Linked DNA regions of Homo sapiens: all the other regions are linked to region 2. Evidence: promoter capture Hi-C in 16 types of primary human blood cells and fetal thymus (Javierre and others, 2016). All regions are on one chromosome and are shown on one strand. Each heading gives the region's core, a stretch centred on a gene start or on the middle of the fragment in contact. The rest is flanking DNA. Distances are from core to core; before and after follow the strand shown. Region 1 overlaps PLD1 (phospholipase D1). Region 2 holds the start of FNDC3B (fibronectin type III domain containing 3B). Region 3 overlaps FNDC3B (fibronectin type III domain containing 3B). Region 4 overlaps PLD1 (phospholipase D1). Region 5 overlaps TNFSF10 (TNF superfamily member 10). Region 6 overlaps PLD1 (phospholipase D1). Region 7 overlaps FNDC3B (fibronectin type III domain containing 3B).

Region 1 (2,700 bases), core at 41-2,540, 380 kb after region 2:
AGAACATTAAGAGCAGGTACCACCTTCTTCAATCCTGTGTGAACTACTATTGATTAGGAAGCTTTTTTTCATCCCAGAATTTTTAGAGCATATGAGAAAATCTGGGGACACTGAGTTTAGTTTGGGAACTTAAATTACTCTTCAAAGTGAATATAAAAATAGTTCAGAGAACTTGAAAAACCCTGAGAAAATAAAAAGTCACAATAATGGAAAAAATAAATCATAGCATAATTTCCTTCCTTATTTGAGTCTTTTCTTTCCCATTGAATTTTTTAAAGGTAGATAGGGGAATGGGTTAACTGAGGAAAACCATTCTAGCCCTGTTTTTCTTCCCCTTGGGTCCTGGCCCTCTCCCGCTCTGCACAGCAACAATTCATTAGAGACAAGCAGGGAAGAATTGGAGCTTTATTTGTTTCATGAGCCTGGCTAGAGAAACCTAAGTTAAATATAATATATTAGCTGGCTAAATGCAGTGTGGTATCCTGAATGGCATCATGGAATAGATATAGGACATTAGTGGAAAATGAGCGAACTCTGCATAAAGTCTGGAGCTTAGTAATGCTATTAGTATTATTAATTTAAACAATTATACCATAGAGATGGAAAGATGTGAAGGCTGGCTCATCTATTGCCCAGAATCATTTTGCTTCATCTCTTTTTAGTAGCATTAACATCAGCTTTTCTGGCCGGGCACGGTGGCTCATGCCTGTAATCCCAGCACTTTGAGGGGGCCAAGGCGGGTGGATCACCTGAGGTCAGCAGCTCGAGACCAGCCTGGCCAACATGGTGAAACCCCGTCTCTACTAAAAATACAAAAAAATTAGCCGGGCATGGTGGCGGGCACCTGTAATCCCAACTACTTGGGAGGCTGAGGCAGGAGAATCACTTGAACCTGGGAGGCGAAGGTTGCAGTGAGCCGAGATCATGCCATTGCACTCAAGCCTTGGTGACAAAAGTGAGACTCCATCTCAAAAAAATAAAAAAAATAAAAAATAAAATAATCAGCTTTTCTTTTTAATGTGACAGTAGTATTAAATGATGTCAGTAACGCCATGTAGGTATACATAGTTGGGACATAGACCTGGTTGACACTCCTCTAGTCAAGATAAGCAGTCAGCATTCATCCGACTCTTCCAAAAAAGGAGAAGTAAAGGACATGACATGTAGCCAGTCTGTGTTTACAGCTGCTGAGGCATGCTAAGCTTCTTTATAATATGAATTCAGAAAAAGAAACATGGTTTGGTTGCCAATGAGATTTTGATTGTCTGATGCCCTAAGGGGAATCACATTCTCAAAAGACTTTCTGCACCGTGTCTTCCTGTAAGTTTGTCTTCTGGAGGCATTTTACAGATTTATGCACTTAAGTATAAAAGCTTATATAGTCATAAAAATGATAATGCCACAAAGGGATGATAATTACGAGTTGTTACATATATATCTCTTTACCTTGAGATGATTAGCAAATATTACTTTGTGATAATTGTCCTTATAAATTACAGATGTGTTATAACAATCTATTCTATTTGAACACATAACATTAGTAATATTTGCACCAAATTTTTCACATTCCTTTATGCAGCAACAAAATATTTTGCATTGTTATGATAATGTTGTAACTTGTTTTCTAGTAACAGTTTTAAAGACTATTTTGTAGATATATAAATAGCAGAAGTACTTAGAGGAAAAAAACATTTTTTATTTTATTAACTGGCTTATATATATGCAACATACAAAAGAGAGTTGAGGCTACTTAAAATAGAAGTTCAGAGATAATAAGAGACCCAGACAAACAAGACAAGGTGAAAGCAGATACCAGGAAATAATGGAGAAAGGGTGGAGAAAACTAGACCAGGCTTTACCATCTACTCTGTTAAAAAAGCAAGCTTAGCATGAGATAGAATGTTTGCCAATATAGAATTTTTAATCATAAGCATTTATACAACATGTGAATCTGAAAAAAACTAGTTTCCCCATTGATTAAATTTGCAGTGTTCCTAAGTATTCTGAGAATGTAATTTAGAAAATCACCTATAAGGAATTCTCATGGTGAAATAATATAGTGTAACTTTCCACTTGATTAAGTGTTACAGGTGATATGACCTGGAATCAGATGAGACCCTGAGTGAGATGAGGCGGCTTTTTTTCTGTGTCGTTGACTTTCTTGATGTGATTTCAGTGATCAGAACACATCTGCTGTGTGAAACATTTTAAAAAATATATTACAGTATTGTTCTTACGTATATTGCTAAGAAAATAAAGACTAACATGATTGTCTTGTTTATTTCTCATAGAACCAGTTTTTCATAAGCTGTGCTGATGACAAAGTTGTGTTCAACAAGATAGGCGATGCCATTGCCCAGAGGATCCTGAAAGCTCACAGGTAACAGCCTTTGGCTGAGAGTTCTCGCTGCAGATGTTCTTGTATTTATTACTAAAATGACTTTGCAAAGCCCATTTTTAAAGTACTGTCATTTCCTAGCAGCTTAAATTTGGTTCAGCCAGCAATAGGTTATTGATGCCTTTAGTCTGAGTCAGTTGCTAAAGATTTTTGACTGCCCTTTCTAGGGAATTTGAATTCTTCCAAGGCACAAAAATTTCTTCCTGGCCAGTCTGTTTCCCACACATGAGGTTTGTGATTTGTTTTATTTAATAGCAGACTATGAGCTGTGTTCGCTTAAAAAAGCAAAACAGACATAATAT
Region 2 (2,700 bases), core at 134-2,633:
AGCTGAGATTCCAAAAGCTCCAACTCCGACCGCGCACTCCTGGAAGCCTCCCCGCCAAAGGCGCCGCCGGGCGGCGCAGCCCAGTCTCCCGAGACGGCGGGCCCGGGTCCTCCGGTTCCCACGGGACGCCGGGACCCGGACCTCTGGGAAAGTTCGCGGGCACAGCCCGAGGCCCCACTTTCTGCCGAGAGTGACAGGCCCTTCCCACGCCTGCCGGCCCCAGCCCAGCCGCGGGCACCAGACGGTCCGCGCGGCCCCTCCTGGCCGCCTCGGGGCGCAGATTCCGCCCGCCCGCCCTATCCCCGGCCGAGGCGCCCCTCGGGGTGACCGACTGACCGGAGCTCCGCTGGCCCACACACCGGGTCGCCCGCTCCTTCCCGCCGCGCCCCGCTCCCCCGCCCGAGCTTCCAGCCGCCGGCTCGCCAAGTCCGGCCGCGGCCGCCGGTTACCGCCCCCAGCCCGGGGGGAGCCCGGGGGGCAGGACGGGGAGGAGGACGTGGCGTGCTCGGAGGTGGCCAGCAGCGGGGCGGGGAGTGTCCCGGAGAGGCCCAGCCGGGGACGGGGGGGCCAGGCCGGCGCGGGCTCGGGACCCTCCCCGCGAGCATCCCCGGGTTCGAGGCCCCCGACCGCCCCCGCCGGCGCGGAGAGGCGGCCCCAACTTCCAGCCCCACTTCGCACTCCCGCCCTCTTCCCTCCACCATATGGAAATCTACAGCCTCAGAAAGTGACACGTCGAAGATTCCTCGGCCTCGCCGCCCGCCCTCCCCCTCCTGGGCAGCGTTCCTGCCGCGGAGATTCCGGGAGGGGGAGCGGATTCCTCGGACAAAATCTGCTGGGAAGGCTGGGGGTGGGGGGAGGCCGCGAGCCACTGCCCAATTTTTTTTAAGAGGAATCTACCCGTTTCTTTCACTCCTCCAAACCCTGAGGCAGGGGGCACAGGCGGGGGACCCCAGCCCAGCAAGGCGGGGGCCGCCCCCTCCCGGGTCCCGTGTTCCCGGGGTGCCCAGGCGAGCACGGGGCGCCCCAGCACTCCGGCGCCAAGTTTTTGCCGGGAAGCCCAGGGCGCTCCCGGGACAGGGACGCACTTTGGCGGACTCGGCGTCAGGCCGGGGCTTTCCAGTGCACCGGGACCCGGCGATCGCGCTCGGGGTCCCGGTCTCCTCTAGTCCCCGGCTCTTGCACGCCTTACCTTCCCTAGGGCTGAAACGCGGGGCTCTGGGCGCGCCACACACCGGGTCGCCCACGCCTTCCCAGCCGGCAGCCTGGAGGATCCCTGCCGCCCCCTTCGCTGCTCCCGCCGCCGCCGCTCTCCTCCTCCAGCCGCCGCCGCCGCCGCTCAAATAACTACCAGGAGGGTTTGATGGGGGATTCCGCCATGTCAATGATGTCGGGACCACATGGGGATTTGGGGCCCGCCCATTACCGTAAACCGCCGAATATACCGGCCGCCACAATCGCAGACTCGCAGAAGCTGTTGTCCCCCGGCCCTGCCTAGCTAAGCAGAAACTCCTTTTGGTTCAGCCAGACTAAAGAAACCTGAGGCTTAGGGAACTAACAACTCCTGAATGGCGAGGGCTGCGCGTTCTGCAGATCGCCAAAGTAATATAAAGGCAATGTTTACTCAGTGATAATTAAGCCTAAAACTGACTTTTTTTCATTTACACATATATTTCGCTTTTTGTTGTTGTTAACCCCCACAGCAACCTTGTGAGCTATATTACTCCCACATTTCCCACAGCATTTTATTCATACAACTAACATAGTATGAGCAATTTTTATTATACTTAAGTTAAAATCTCTCTTTCCTCTTTCTTTTTGTTTTTTGTTTTTTGTTGTTGTTGTTGTTTGTTTTGGGGACTGCAGGCACGGGGCAGGCATGAGCCACCGCACCCTTTTTTTTTTTTTTTTTTTTTCCTTTTTTGGAAGAGAGGGGGTCTCAATAGGTTGCCCAGGCTGGTCTGGAACTCTGTCGCTCAAGTGATTCTCCCGCCTTGGCCTCCCAAAGTGTTGAGATTACAGGCGTGAGCCAACTCACCCAGCCTTATTTCACAATGCGTTTCTCAGGGACAAAGACTGTTTCTTACTTTTATCTTTATATCCGTAAAATATAGCACAGTGCAAGGACCACAATAGGACTCATTAAATAACTGTTGAGTTCATATTAAGTCAAATGTAATGTATTTCTGTTGTACAGGCTCTAAGAGGTTAACAGACTGCATCCCATGCCACCCCTCAGATTATTCAGGAGACAAGAGAGCAAAAGTTAGCCTAGAGAAGCCCCTTCCATCCATAGCTGTCCAGGTATTCTGAATAGCTACATTCAGCCTCAACTATTAAGCTACAAAGGAGCATTCAGGGAGTCACTAGAGACAATGTATTACTTTTGTTAACCTAAAAAATAATAATAGCAGTACATAATACTCTGTTAAAGTCTAAAGAACACTAAGAAATAGCTCCTTCCTTCCCTTGTTCATTTGCCATTCTTTTGGGGAGATTTTAGCCTTTTTTTTTTTTTTTTGGAGGCAATGGTGAGTCCAGAGAAATGGGGACCTCTCTCCTAAATGGCTTATTTACTGTGGAGCTCCTCAAAGGGGAACTTGAAGCCATCTTTCTATAACATAACTCCAATTCTAGGTCATAGTCCTGCATGAGAAGCCGGGGCGGGGGGTAGGCAGTAGTTCCTTAGTGCCAATAGGGTAC
Region 3 (2,700 bases), core at 3-2,502, 320 kb before region 2:
TTCGCAATGTAATACCATTATGTTAAAAAAGTGCTGGCAGGGATAAGGTACAACTGGAACTCTCCTATTTCACTAGTGATAATGAAAACTGGCATCACCACATAGGAAAACAGTTGCCTTTTAAATATATACTTATTACATGACCCAGCAATCCCAATCCCAGGTATTTATTTACTCTAGAAAAATTAATATTTATGTTCACACAAAAACCTGCACACAAATGTTTACAGCAGCTCTACTTATAATCACCTAAAACTAGATAAATATCTCCTCATAGTTTGGAACGTAGTAAATACTCATCTCTGATAAAGCAGAGCAAAAACTCCATTACAAAGGGCCTTACTTTTCCCAGATTCTATTACACTGGGGCTGCATCAAGTCTTTTGTAGATAAAGCAATATAAGTCTCTCGGTATAACACTGAAAGATTAGAACTCTTCCTTGCCTCCCATATGAGTCTTATAAGATTGCTTTATGGTATTAATAGAAGAGTTTCTTTCTATGATTGGAATGTAACATATTTTTCGGCAACTGGAAATGAAAAATCTTTTTAAAAAGGCAGTCATCATGATGGTAGAAATTACTATCCTCTTTCCCTTCTCAGGAAAAGGAAATTAAGCCGGACATTAAGTTTTAGTCTTTCTTCAACAGTGTAACACATTTCCTCACCTACAAGGTTTATATTAAGGTCCTTCCAGTGTCCAAACCACCATTCCTTCCCTTTACTCTAGGTACAAACATTCCTAGATTCCAGAGGCCAAGATCCTTTCTGCCATCTGCTGGCTCACCTTGTATTCTAGGTGATCCTACCCTTTGCTCTGTGCCACCTGAATAGCTCTTAGCTACTTTAATACACAAAAGAAAATGAGGTAATGAGTTCCTTAAGATTGTTGTTCTATTCTATACTCAAGAAAAAAAATGCTAAGAGATTTAAATCACTTATAAGAATTTAAAAATAGTTTAGAAGATACAAGTATCAAGATATAAAAAAAATTTAGATTTGATTTTTGGCTTCTGTTGTAAATTCATTTCCTTCCTCAAAGCCTCCCTAGTATTTTGGTAAGTACTAGGTTCTTTATATCTTTAGCTCTAGGGTTCTCTAATCTTTCACTGAGTATCTCCTAGGCATATAATCCTAGCCTTAACACACACCACCGCCACCATCACCACCACCACCACCACCACCACCACCACCACCACCACCACCACCACCACCACCACCACCACCAAGAAAACTGTGGTAGCATTTAACACTCTTTAGCAGTGTAGCCTCTTTGGGAATCCTGCTCATCAATTTGGAGACCTTGGGGAAATTATTGAACACTTTTAAGTAACAGCTTTCTTATCTATAAATTGGGGACAGTGACTTTTTTCTGCAATTACAAAGAAGATTACCTAACTAAGATAAGGGATGTAAGAAGCACTTTCCAATTTTTAATATTTTATACTCCACAGTAAAATCAGGAGAGGATTCAAGGCAGCCAAAAGCACTAGCAAATTTTCAAGTGTTAATTTTTGGAGTCATTATCCTGATGACTTCTTTGAGAGTGTCACGCCATCCCAACAGTGCTGGCACAGGGACAGGTCTTCACTGCGGCTGCACTATTACACCACCTCACTTTACAACATGAGTAACTTGCTGATCCCACTTCCTCCAAGTAATGGCCAAGGACTCAGCAACAGCTGAAAGGATGGGCTTCTTTCTAGGCCATCCGCAGCAAGGTGAGAGTGAGACAAAGATCTCAGGAACTGAAGAAAACAACAATGGCAACCATCACTACACACATTGAGAACTTGCTCTGTTCCAGAAAATGCACTACAGAGTGGGAACTACTATTACATCTGCCTTTAGAGATGAGGAAATCAAAGTTAAATGCAGAGAGGTTAAATAACTTGATCTAAATGACAGAGTGACTACTAGGGGTTGAAAGCTAGGTTTGACATCTACAATATCATCTCTGATTTCTATGCTGACCCCATAAGGTAGGAGCTACTTTGTCTGCTTTACAACTGAAGAAACTGCAGCTCAGCTAGGTCATGTCAGACACATGTTAGATCCAGGCGTGAGCAGAACTCCCTTTAGGTGCAAAGGCCTGTGTGTCTGGCACACCATACTCTTATATCGTAACAGGGGCCAAATATGGTTACAAATCCTACCAAATGACCATTTTTAATTCAAACCACACTTTCAGTTCAACATTGACCGTCTGCCAAGGAAGCAGGCATTTAGAAGAGTCAACAAGTTTACTTCACATTATTTAAACAGCATCTGGCCCTGAAATCAACTACCTAGATTCTAAAATACTCAATTCAACCTATCCTACATTTTTACAAAAACACATTTTGTTTCAGCGAAAATACGTGAACATTTACGTGTACAGCTGATGCACTGAACTAACATTAATTATTTCTAATGATGATGTAACATTCAAAATTGAAAAAAAAAACTGAGGAACTGATAAAATGGAATGAAATGATGTCTTGTTGCATTCTGGGGAAAATATTAAGGCCTCTGAGCACAGGAGGCTGAGACAGCTGAATGAGGACTAAGGCAGTTACTGTTTGTTTTGGTTTAGGGTGAAAAACACAGTATGGGAAAATAATTTCCTAATTCCAGTGAAAGGTGACATTGGACTAATGGGCAAAACAAACATTAACCTGAGGAACCACTCCAAGAATTCACCTCAGAAAATAAAAACTA
Region 4 (2,700 bases), core at 179-2,678, 340 kb after region 2:
TGGGCAGCTAATTTTATAGGCAAAAAAATTATAATAAAATTTCATCATTGAATAATAAATGATGAAATGGAGCATAGCATTTAATTGTATTCATTATTTTGTCATTTAAGCAAAAGGAAAACTCATCTGGAGAATGGTTTCAGCTAGATGGGGCTAATGTGGTGTAGAATAATATTAAAGGGGGAGGAATAGTCACAGTTGGTGGTGTTTTTTCTCTGGTTTTGGTAAAGTTCCTGGTAAAAATGTGAAACTGTTTCCTGTGGAGTTGACCCTGTACATTCTGGGTGAACATTGAATGTGTGCTTTTTAGGTATAAAAAGTAAATAACTGAAGCAGCCTAGGCTCACTAATGACTGCATTCATATTTCTAGTGATTTTTTTAATGTAATAGGCCCTTAAAATTAAATCAGTTTAAATTAAAAATAGATCTGGGATTTATTATTTAGCATGTCCAAATTAGGAAGTGCTAACTTTTTGCTATTATCAGAAACTGTCTTAACCTTTTTTTTTTTTTTTTTTGAGATGGGGTTTTGTTCTTGTTGCCCAGGCTGGAGTGCAATGGTGCAGTCTCGGCTCACTGCAACCTCTGCCTCCCAGCTTTAAGCAATTCTCCTGCCTCAGCCTCCCAAATAGCTGGGATTACAAGTGCCCACCACCATGCCTGGCTTTTTTTTTTTTTTTTTTGTATTTTTGTATTTTTAGTAGAGACGGGGTTTCACCACATTGGCCAGGCTGGTCTTGAACTCCTGACCTCAGGTGATCTGCCCACCTCGGCTTCCCAAAGTGCTGGGATTACAGGCTTGAGCCACCGCTCCCGGCCAACCTTTTTTTATTCTGTCATTAAACATGCTAGCAGAACGTGTGGAGCCTAAATAATTGGGGTTAGCATTTTTCTGTTTCTCATAGCTTTCACTCATTTCTTCTTTCCTATCCTCTGCATTCCACTTTTTATTTCCCCATTCACTTTCCCCTTTTCTTTCTGTATCTTTTCCCCATGCATTTACTTGAGTATTTCTGGGGATATCCACAAATATAGTCAGACCTCACTGCTAATATTGAAAGCAAAAGAAATTGATAATATTTATTTGAAACACATTCTGCCAAACAACATCATTTTGATGGATAGTCTAGTTTGTTTCATCAATAGAATTCCAGTTACAGAATTGGACATTTTGATTCTGAAAACATTATTCACATATTTATTAAATAATTCATCATACGGTTACTGTCTCCTATGAGCCAGCTTCTACGGTAATCACTAAGAATGCCACCATGAATCAGATTTGAACCTTGCCAGTGGCGAACTTGCTGAGGGACTCATGTCTTGGGCTCAGTCCTAGCCTTACCAGACTACTTTCTACCTATTGAATGGGCAGTAACTTTCTCTATGTTTCTCTCAATGAAATGGCATCTTTTCCATTTTCCCTCAAGATTCTATTTTAGTACATTTTTCCAGCCTTGCGTAGCAATCTGTACTAATACTAGTAAATTTTTGCTTATAATATTTAATCAGCACCTCACTGTTTTAGGTTTCAATCAATATGTATTTATTGAATGTTTTCTATGTGCAGGGCATTTGGCTAATCATATGAGGATGTACATAAATAAAAGCCATGATTCTTAAGTTGAAGGAGCTTATAAAATCTGCAGAAGTGTCAGTTGCATGCAGAAACAATGCCCCGATTTAATGGCAAGAGGGAAAGCATTGGGCTTTCCCAATGGAAAAGGTCCAGTTGGGGAGCTCCACACAACATGAAGGATGTGGGGCATTTAGGATGGACAAACATTTTTAAAAGGGAAAGAAGAACTTTCTAGGTGTAGTAGATGTAAACAGCAGTGCCAAAGACTTTGTCAGGCACGGTAGGGTGGTTCATCACATCTGAGTGTTAGCATAGCCGGATGGGGGATTAAGCTGGAACTGCTAGTTGCAGCTGGGATGCAGAGGCTTTGTGAGCCAAGCTAGTGGTTTGACTTTATGGGAGACAGTGGGGCAGTACTGTGCGGGGCAGGGCGGTGTGGGGAAGCAGGGGTGGTCTGATCAAAATAATGTGTCGGACCCCGTCTCTACTAAAAATACAAAACAATTAGCCGGGCATGGTGGCGGGCGCCTATAGTCCCAGCTACCCGGGAGGCTGAGGCAGGAGAATGGCGTGAACCCGGGAGGCGGAGCTTGCAGTGAGTCGAGATTGTGCCACTGCACTCCAGCCTGGGCAACAGAGCAAGACTCTGTTTCAAAAAAAAAAAAAAAAAAAAAAAAAGGTGTCCGGAAGGTGACTCTGATAGTGGAAGAAACTGGGAAGAGCTGATTCAGAAAGCTAAAGTTTAGATCACTTGAAGATACAGTGTCTACAAGACATCTAAGTTAACTTGAGAAAGCTAGTAAATGCCTCGGTAGGGCTCAGGAGGAAGATCCTGCAGGCCTGGCTTCCACCTCTTGTTTGCTGGCATGCGCTTGTTTACTGCCCTTGGCATACCTGTCTGGTTACCTTTTCTGTGTCTAGTGTGACTTCTCTTTACTTTTTTGGCCCTTGAACCCTGGCGAGGTCCCTCGTGAACACCATGGCCAAATAAACGTTATTGCCTGATAACAGTGCTTCATTTCCATTTCATCCACTTCTTGGAGCTGGTAATTTTTAAACTGTGGGTAGCGATATTTAAAATTTCCTAAAGAAATAGTAATACAATTAAAGATTGATTTCT
Region 5 (2,700 bases), core at 201-2,700, 470 kb before region 2:
AATGAAGTCCCTTAAAGTTACCCTTCTTTGTTTCAGGCCACCACTGGGCTCCAGGTCTTTCTTTACAAAAGCCTCCTCCTCCATCATCCTTTTCCCAACAATCTTTCTACCCACCCACGATCCTCATCCTGCGGTCTCCACCTGTGGCCACACCACCCTCTTGTTCATGGTCAGCAGCCTTCTCTCGACCCACCTCTCTGTGCACTACTGTTGCCCAGGCTGGCTTCTTTAGCTTTCCATCTGGCACTCCATCGTACTTTACAGCTCACGTAATTGTCACCTCTTCAGAGAGGGCTTCCCTGGACACCTTTCTAAGTAAATTCCCTGCACTCTGTTATTTTTATCACATGTACCTTGTTCATTTCCTTTCAGTTATTTTTTTAAATCTGTTATTCTTTTCCAATGCAATAAACTTCTTCATCACTTGGCACCCCCATTTTCCTTTATTAAATATGTTTTCTTAAATATAAAGGACAGGACCTGTTCCTGGGGTCTAAGCCTTCTTTCTTATCATTTCTCCAAAGGTGAAAGCAGTAGTGAGAATGTTGAACACTCCACCTATTCAGATGAGGCATACCAGATTAATGGTCTACAGCAGATAGATGCATGTACTGTTTTCAGTGTTGGAAGAATAAAATTCTTTGTTATTCATCCCAGTAAGGTGAAACACAACTCTGTATACCAAGATATATCCATGGTACCTCGATATACATATTTGCAGGTTTCTTTTTTGGGAGGTGTTTGCTATAACCAGTTGGAAATTTCCTCTTTTAAAAATTTGCTTTCAAATCTAGGCTTTCCTATCCATATCCTTGAAATGACCTTAACAAATCTGTTGCCCAGGCTGGAGTGCAGTGGTACGATCATGGCTCACTGCAGCCTCAACTTCCTGGCCTCAAACAATCCTCCCACCTCAGCTTCCCGAATAGTAGGACTACGGGCACAGGCCAACACGCCTGGCTGATTTTTCTATTTTTTATAGAGACAAGGTTTCACTATGTTGCCCAGGCTAATCTCAAACTCTCAGGCTAAGTGATCCACCCATCTTGGCCTCCAAATTGTCACTTTCTAATTCATATTTTCTGTAGAAGGCTGTAAGTCCCTTGAGGACATGGTCAGTGAAATCAGTGATTAATATTTGTAGCCCTCTGGGGTGTAGTGCCTTACCCTAGCACTGTCTGTTTGATGAAAGAATATAATTTACTTACAACCAATGTAAGCACACTTGGGAAGTTTGAACTGATTCTTTTAGAGAAAGTCATTTGTTACATTTCTTTTTTTTTTTTTTTTTTTTGACGGAGTCTTGCTCTGTTGCCCAGGCTGGAGTGCAATGGTGAGATCTCTGCTCACTGCAAGCTCCGCCTCCTGGATTCACACCATTCTCCTGCCTCAGCCTCCTGAGTAGTTGGGACTATAGGTGCCTGCCACCATGCCCAGCTAATTTTTTTGTATTTTTAGTAGAGATGGGGTTTCACCGTGTTAGCCAGGATAGTCTCAATCTCCTGACCATCTGTTTGTTGGTACCACTCTGTTTATTTCTGTATGTAATTCAAGGTGGAAATTTGCCAATACGTAGTTATTTGCACAATTTAACTCAGCAGGATTATTACACAGCTACAGCTATTTCTTTATTTATATTTTTGGAAAAGGGATAGAATCTTCACTTTGTTGTATCTTCACTTTGTTTCTCTTTGGACCCTACCCGTGAGACACTAATAAATTATAATCCATGTTACTGCTTATTCTTTCCGTGTAAAGTACTTTTCAAGTTGATCATAAGCTGAGGTAGGTTGATCATAATATCAAAATGTTATTTTTATGAAAACTCATAGAATCAACTTTGGAAGCCCAGTATGCTTACGATGGCTGATTGACAACACCTATGAAGAGCAAGGTATTGGAGAACTAGTTTGGCAAGTGTTGATGACCCTTTATCATTTCTCTTTTAGAAAAGCAACAAAATATTTCTCCCCTAGTGAGAGAAAGAGGTCCTCAGAGAGTAGCAGCTCACATAACTGGGACCAGAGGAAGAAGCAACACATTGTCTTCTCCAAGTAAGAGAAACAACAAATAAGTGACTTAAGGGAAAATAATGGAAGGATTGTGCCAAGTAACTTATTTTTTAAAGAATTTTATCTGAAATGTTTATATGGCTATCTACAAAATGCTCAGTATTAATCAGATCTCAGATTGACTGTTTTCAGATGCAAGATTACAGACAAACAGCTCAATTATTGCCACGACATAACTGGCCTCAGGAAAATTACAAAGTGGGAGAATTTTGTCTTTGCAGTTTTCAGGATCCCATTTTTTTTCCTTCTTTAGAGTAATTTCTCGCTCTTTCTTTCTTTCTTTTTCTTTCTTTCTTTCCTTTTTTTTTTTAGACAGAGTTTCACGTTTGTTGCCCAGGCTGGAGTGCAATGGCACCATCTCGGCTCACTGCAACCTCCGCCTCCAGTGTTCAAGCAATTCTCCTGCCTCAGCCTCCCAAGTAGCTGGGATTACAGGCACGCAGCTCCACGCCTGGCTAATTTTGTATTTTTAGTAGAGATGGGATTTCTCCATGTTGGTCAGGCTGGTCTCGAACTCCCGACCTCAGGTGATCCGCCCACCTCGGCCTCCCAAAGTGCTGGGATTACAGGTGTGAGCCACTGCACCCAGCCTTTCTCTCTTATGATTACTTCTTCCATCCCTCTGCAC
Region 6 (2,700 bases), core at 55-2,554, 360 kb after region 2:
TCAGTCTCATAAAGCAGGAAAATAAATCACTGGGAGAAGTCAATAGAAGTCTATTTTTAACATGATTTCATTTTGCTAATCTATGGCATTTTAAATCATTTTTCTTCTGTAGAAAACTTTAATAGCCTTTGAAAGGTTAATGATTCAGTTTGAGATAGAATATTAGCATTGTGTGTGGTGATTACATAAAAACATTTGTTCTGCAAATATTTATTGATTGCCTGGGTGCTTGGAGCTACTGGCAGTGAGAAGATTTGGTTCCCACTCCCAAAGAGTTTATAGACTGGTGAGGCATTGATGCGGGCAGGGGAGCATCCTGATACAATTGCGTCACAGAGTCAGAGGTGTTGGGGCAGTTGTTAGTGGGATGACAGCAGTGCTAGTGACTGCCTCTTCCTTATGGGGAGATGGCAGGTGATAGCTAATGTGGCTCTTGAAGGATGATTAGGATATCAGGCCAAGAGGGAGAAAGGAGCATTTCAGGTAGAAGTAATAATGTGCCAACTGCATGGAGACATGGCAGTCCACACCTGTTATAATACAGTGAAACACGTGATTTGCATGGGGCCTGGGGTTGGGTGGGGAAAAACAAGGACTAGAAAGATAGATTGGCACCAGTTTGGGAAGAGTCTTCTATGCACACTAAGCCCTTAGGACTTGAGCTTCCTATAGGCAGTATGTGAACCTTCCAGGGTTTTAAGCAAAGAGTGCATTTTACAAAGACAGTTCTGGGACAGTGTGTTGGTGGCAGGACCAGTGTAGTCCTCTCACTGGCTACTGCAAGCAGTACCATTTATTCATTCAACACATATTTTTGCATTCAGTGTCTATTTGTTAAATGCCTCTTTTGTGCCAAGTGCTGCGTTTGTGATTTGTAATTCTGCATCTTTTTACTTCATTGTCTTTGTATTTAGCCGTAAGTCAATGGTCTCGGCACAGTTATTTGTGAAATGCTATAGTAGATTGCTGCTTTTGCACCTATATCATAAGCTTTCATCTGTTGTTACCATATTTTTTATAAATGCCATCTATGATTTGAAGTATATAAATGTTAAAGCGCAACAGATTTTAGCTGTTATCTAGGCCAAATTCTTCATTTTACGCATAATGGATTTATGATCTAAAAAACTGAAGCTCAGTGTCACTTAGCTAATTAATTCCAGGGCTGGAACATGGGCTATCTGTAAATTTGAGGTTCTTGCTTTAATGCAAAAGAATTATGCATCAGGTGTGCACCATGTTGGTTGAGGAAAAAGAAGTGGCATGGTGTCTTTATTGCCCCTGCGTCTCAGGTTTCTCCACCTCTCCCCTCCCCGCCCTTCCCACTCTGCCCCTGAAAGCCCCCCACCAGCTTTACTGCTCTCATAGTGCCACCTTGTGAGTTCTTTATTCACAGTTAATTCTGTGATAGTTCTTCCAGTGATCTGGTAGGTGGTGGAAATAAGTTACTCAACTGCCTGAGAAGGTCAAATTTCATTGTTTAATGATGAATCTTGTTGTAGCCCTAACTGCCCACTAAAAGTAAACTTGTAAGGACTGTAAAACCTTGTTAGCCCACAGCCTGTAATAGAATGGACAGATGCCACCCTAGTTGTGTCTTAAGAAATTAAGAAGCTTTTAGGTGTTTAATAAATGAGAGTTGAGCCTCCCTTTCTGGGACTCACCTGAACCACAGTCTCTGAGGGGGTCTTGCTGCATTCACAGATACCGGGTCCATCCGTAGTTTACAGACAGGTGTGGGAGAGCTGCATGGGGAAACCAGATTCTGGCATGGAAAGGACTACTGCAATTTCGTCTTCAAAGACTGGGTTCAACTTGATAAACCTTTTGCTGGTGAGTATCATAATGGTGGGGTGCTGGTTATATTTTGTCTTTTACCTTTGAACATCTCAGCAAGTATACATGTGCATGATCTAAATGCCTTTTGTTTTGCTTCCGTTGATTTTTGAAAATTTTTTAAAACTTTGGAGACTAGATTTAGTCATTAGCATGTGCTTAAGGACTTTTTTTTCAGTTATAATAAGAAAAGAACATGAAATAGAGCTGAACTGTCTGAAAAATCCAGATTTTTATAGGCATATTTTGGGGGCAATAATCAGTAATTTTTCAGGAAATGGTAGGCTCCCTTTGATCATCTTCTATTCTGCTTATTTCCTGCATTTCCAGCGTTAGAATGGCATATTTTCAGGTTATCACTGGGTTTATATGTTTAAGAGGAGATAGAGATGGCATTGCCTGCCATTGTTTCAACAGGATAAAAAATAAAAAATATAATATCAAATACACAGCCTTAGATAATTTGTACCAACTCACATCTTGCCATGTCTAGTGATTATCTAATCCTAAGTGAAACGGAAACATATGTGGGGAAGTGCCTGGGAGACTATGTCCCTGAATGTGAAATCTGTTTCCCTTGATTATAAAAATGTTGTTCTATGCAAGCCAAGAAATATATACCTAGTGGGCACTAACCCACGTTTCCTTTTAGTTTCATAGTTGGAGTCAGAGAGACTTTGCCCCAACACTGAAGTTAATGACTGATCCTTGCCTGGTGCACCCGGGCAGATTTCATTGACAGGTACTCCACGCCCCGGATGCCCTGGCATGACATTGCCTCTGCAGTCCACGGGAAGGCGGCTCGTGATGTGGCACGTCACTTCATCCAGCGCTGGAACTTCACAAAAGTACTTGGATGTTGCT
Region 7 (2,700 bases), core at 34-2,533, 340 kb before region 2:
AAAGTGTTACATCTTCATTACAAATTTGCCATAAAGCTCAGTTTTTAAAGGAGTTTGGAGAGGACTACTAGGAACAGTATGCTTTCCTGCCATGCCACAATCTAAGGAGAGTATTTCTTTTGGAAAATAAGTTCAATATATATTTGGACCCAGACCCAATTATAATATAAGCAATAGCACTCACAGTCACAAAGAAATTTACTGAAGCAAATTCATTACTCTAAGTTTGTAATCTAAATAGAACAGATAACATACATATCAATTTAAAAATACATCAAAATCTTCTGTTTCTAGACTATTGTGTTCCTTTAACTTCTTGTTTTGCTCTTGTACTGGAGAATTTTATTAACTGTTTAAAATTGCATTCCAATTTATGAAAAACATAGTGGAAACAGCTGATAGCAATGAGAAATTTAAAATTTTATTTATGTCTGGAGACAGTGTTAATTAGAATTACAAAAATGACCCCATTTGTGTCTAGAAAAAAAGTGGGAGTGACCTTGAAGACTCTGGAGGAGACATGACTGCAGAGGATTTCAGCTTTACAGTTCAATCACCTTATTTTCAGTGAAGGCGGAGTTAGGCAGCTCCAGGAGGCCACCTTGGAGCTGCAATTCCCCATGGAGAGGAACTTGGGAACTGGCAGCCAGGTGCTCCCAGCAGAAGGGAGCTGAGAAGAGGAGGGAAAGGGGTGGTTCTTTCTTCCTTCAGCCTTTTCTAGAATAAGCATGCGTCTAAGCAGTCCTCTAATGTAGCCCACTGTCTACTCCGGCAATAATAAATCATGATCTGCTCGTTGCTCTGATCAAAGCCATCACTGCTTTGACTGGCCTGCCTTCCCCAAAAAAGGGCATGGGAAGAAATTATGAGAGGGGCATGGAGAAGAGCTCTTTTATTTTGTTCTCAGAATGTGTATGGAAATAGCCAAAATAGATGGTAAGTAATTCCTATGTCATGTAATTAACCAGATACTGAGCCTTCAGGAGGGAAGGAGACGATGGGCATGACAGAGGCTCTTTCCTGGGTGAAACAAGTATAAGGTGGGAAGGGGAGACATAAGGAATCCTAAGAGCTTTGGGTGAAACAGCCCAAGGCAGGAAAGCATCAAGTGTCAATTGGGCCATCTAGAAACACTGATGTACCCTGTCCTTTTGGGGCCTGTGCCCTAAGATGAACACACAGGCCCAAGGTCAGAAGGGCTGAGCAATGATGCAAGATGATCATAGCTAATGCCTTCTGAAGACTTTCTCCAGTCATCTCACTCTGAAGTGTGACCAAGAGCCACAGGGAGACATTAAAGACAGAGGTAGCAAGTTGGCACATTATTAAAAAGCTGACACCTTCCTCACTTTAAAGGTTTTCCCTACCCTTTCCTCTTCTTAAGGAAATAAAAGAGGTAAGAATAGAAAGAGAACTGCAAGAATGAAACCATGACATGAAAGGGATGAGAAAGACTTGGTACCAATTTTTATACTATGAAAATCATTTATCACAGTCATTTCCAATTTCATGTCATTTTACTCTCTACAACAAAAAAATTCATTAAATACATAAGAAAATAGATTCTAGTTAAACTTCTTCTATACCCCCTAAAGATCTGGGTACTTGGTAGGCTCTCAGTAAATGCAATTTCTGAGACTGGAATTGGCTCTGTAGACTATGAAACACCAGCAAGTAGTTTAGCCTCTTCGTGCCTCAGTTTTCTCATCTGTACAATCAGTGAAATGATGGAACCAACCTCAGAGATATTGTGAGGTTTAAATGGGTTAATAAAAGAAAACTGCTGGCCGGGCACAGTGGCTCAGGCCTGTAATTCTAGCATTTTGGGAGGCCGAGGCGGGCGGATCACAAGGTCAGGATTTCGAGACCAGCCTGGCCAGCATGGTGAAACCCCATCTCTACTAAAAACACAAAAATTAGCCAGGCGTGGTGATGCGTGCCTGTAGTCCCAGCTACTCAGGAGGCTGAGGCAGGAGAATCGCTTGAATCCGGTAGGCAGAGGTTGCAGTGAGCCAAGACTGCCACTGTACTCCGGCCTGGGCAAGAGCGAGACTCTGTCTCAAAATAATAAATAAAATAAGTAAATAAATAAAATCAAAGTGCTTAGGCTAATCCTGATATATAATAACTCAATATGTGTTAGTTATAATCATCTTAATGCTGTGAAGACAGAATTTTTAGAAAGGACTCCCTGTGTGTTCTGAGAGACCACGGACATCACTGCTAACACAGATTTTTTTCTAGGTGGAAAGTCAGCCGCATGGTAAGAGGCAACCCTGCAGAGCAGGCTGCCATGTTGGCCTCAGACATGAGCTGTGGGACTACATCTGTGAGGCTGTTTACTCTCCCTCAGGCGGGTCCTGCCAGTGAAGTACAGGCAGAGACGCTTCCTTGGAACACACTGGTGAGGTCTGAATTTGACGGCTCACATAAAAGCCCCAAGCTCTGACACAGCAGGCCTCAGATAACTGTTGATTCTAAGTTTCTTTCTGGTAAACCCTAGCATGAAATGTACATGCTGACAGTAATGTCTGGTTCCCCTTGCTCCTCCAATATCAGACAATAAAGACCTACCAAAACATAATAAAAAGCACATATGCCAACACAAGAATAATATAATTCCTCTTTCATCCCAGTTCTATAATTATTTCCCATCATTCCAGGAGGCAAAATAAGAGAGAATCTTCCTTCTTCGGGGCC

What was found. The method cuts DNA at HindIII sites, captures the fragments that hold promoters and counts their contacts. A CHiCAGO score of 5 or more calls a contact.
Region 1: a contact is called between a fragment that was not itself captured here and the fragment with the promoter of FNDC3B in region 2, in 2 of 17 cell types (M2 macrophages and endothelial precursors). The highest score is 7.2, in M2 macrophages.
Region 3: a fragment that was not itself captured here is called in contact with the fragment with the promoter of FNDC3B in region 2 in 1 of 17 cell types (neutrophils); the score reaches 5.9 in neutrophils.
Region 4: a contact is called between a fragment that was not itself captured here and the fragment with the promoter of FNDC3B in region 2, in 2 of 17 cell types (M2 macrophages and M0 macrophages). The highest score is 6.5, in M2 macrophages.
Region 5: a contact is called between a fragment that was not itself captured here and the fragment with the promoter of FNDC3B in region 2, in 1 of 17 cell types (neutrophils). The highest score is 5.5, in neutrophils.
Region 6: a contact is called between a fragment that was not itself captured here and the fragment with the promoter of FNDC3B in region 2, in 1 of 17 cell types (M2 macrophages). The highest score is 5.3, in M2 macrophages.
Region 7: a contact is called between a fragment that was not itself captured here and the fragment with the promoter of FNDC3B in region 2, in 1 of 17 cell types (neutrophils). The highest score is 5.5, in neutrophils.

The regions. Positions count from the first base shown.
Region 1 is chr3:171,658,893-171,661,592 of GRCh38, reverse strand. PLD1 (phospholipase D1) reads left to right here. Exons shown (of 27, transcript NM_002662.5): 21 at 2,292-2,380. Among named protein-coding and RNA genes, the nearest start is that of PLD1, 150 kb to the left of the region's middle. The HindIII fragment of the contact is 171 bases long and covers 1,205-1,375 here.
Region 2 is chr3:172,038,261-172,040,960 of GRCh38, reverse strand. It overlaps FNDC3B (fibronectin type III domain containing 3B), which reads right to left and starts at 1,383. Exons shown (of 26, transcript NM_022763.4): 1 at 1,190-1,383. RefSeq lists silencers at 31-400, 461-710, 891-990, 1,131-1,310 and enhancers at 229-895, 896-1,563. The HindIII fragment of the contact is 7,479 bases long and covers 1-2,700 here.
Region 3 is chr3:172,357,483-172,360,182 of GRCh38, reverse strand. All of the region lies in intron 22 of FNDC3B (fibronectin type III domain containing 3B), which reads right to left. Among named protein-coding and RNA genes, the nearest start is that of GHSR, 90 kb to the left of the region's middle. The HindIII fragment of the contact is 7,884 bases long and covers 1-2,700 here.
Region 4 is chr3:171,696,796-171,699,495 of GRCh38, reverse strand. The region is part of intron 12 of PLD1 (phospholipase D1); the gene reads left to right. Among named protein-coding and RNA genes, the nearest start is that of PLD1, 110 kb to the left of the region's middle. The HindIII fragment of the contact is 3,778 bases long and covers 1-2,700 here.
Region 5 is chr3:172,508,571-172,511,270 of GRCh38, reverse strand. It overlaps TNFSF10 (TNF superfamily member 10), which reads left to right. Exons shown (of 5, transcript NM_003810.4): 4 at 1,950-2,054. Among named protein-coding and RNA genes, the nearest start is that of TNFSF10, 14 kb to the left of the region's middle. The HindIII fragment of the contact is 3,718 bases long and covers 1-2,700 here.
Region 6 is chr3:171,676,699-171,679,398 of GRCh38, reverse strand. PLD1 (phospholipase D1) reads left to right here. Exons shown (of 27, transcript NM_002662.5): 17 at 1,705-1,833; 18 at 2,566-2,684. Among named protein-coding and RNA genes, the nearest start is that of PLD1, 130 kb to the left of the region's middle. The HindIII fragment of the contact is 624 bases long and covers 993-1,616 here.
Region 7 is chr3:172,373,778-172,376,477 of GRCh38, reverse strand. The region is part of intron 23 of FNDC3B (fibronectin type III domain containing 3B); the gene reads right to left. Among named protein-coding and RNA genes, the nearest start is that of GHSR, 73 kb to the left of the region's middle. The HindIII fragment of the contact is 5,833 bases long and covers 1-2,700 here.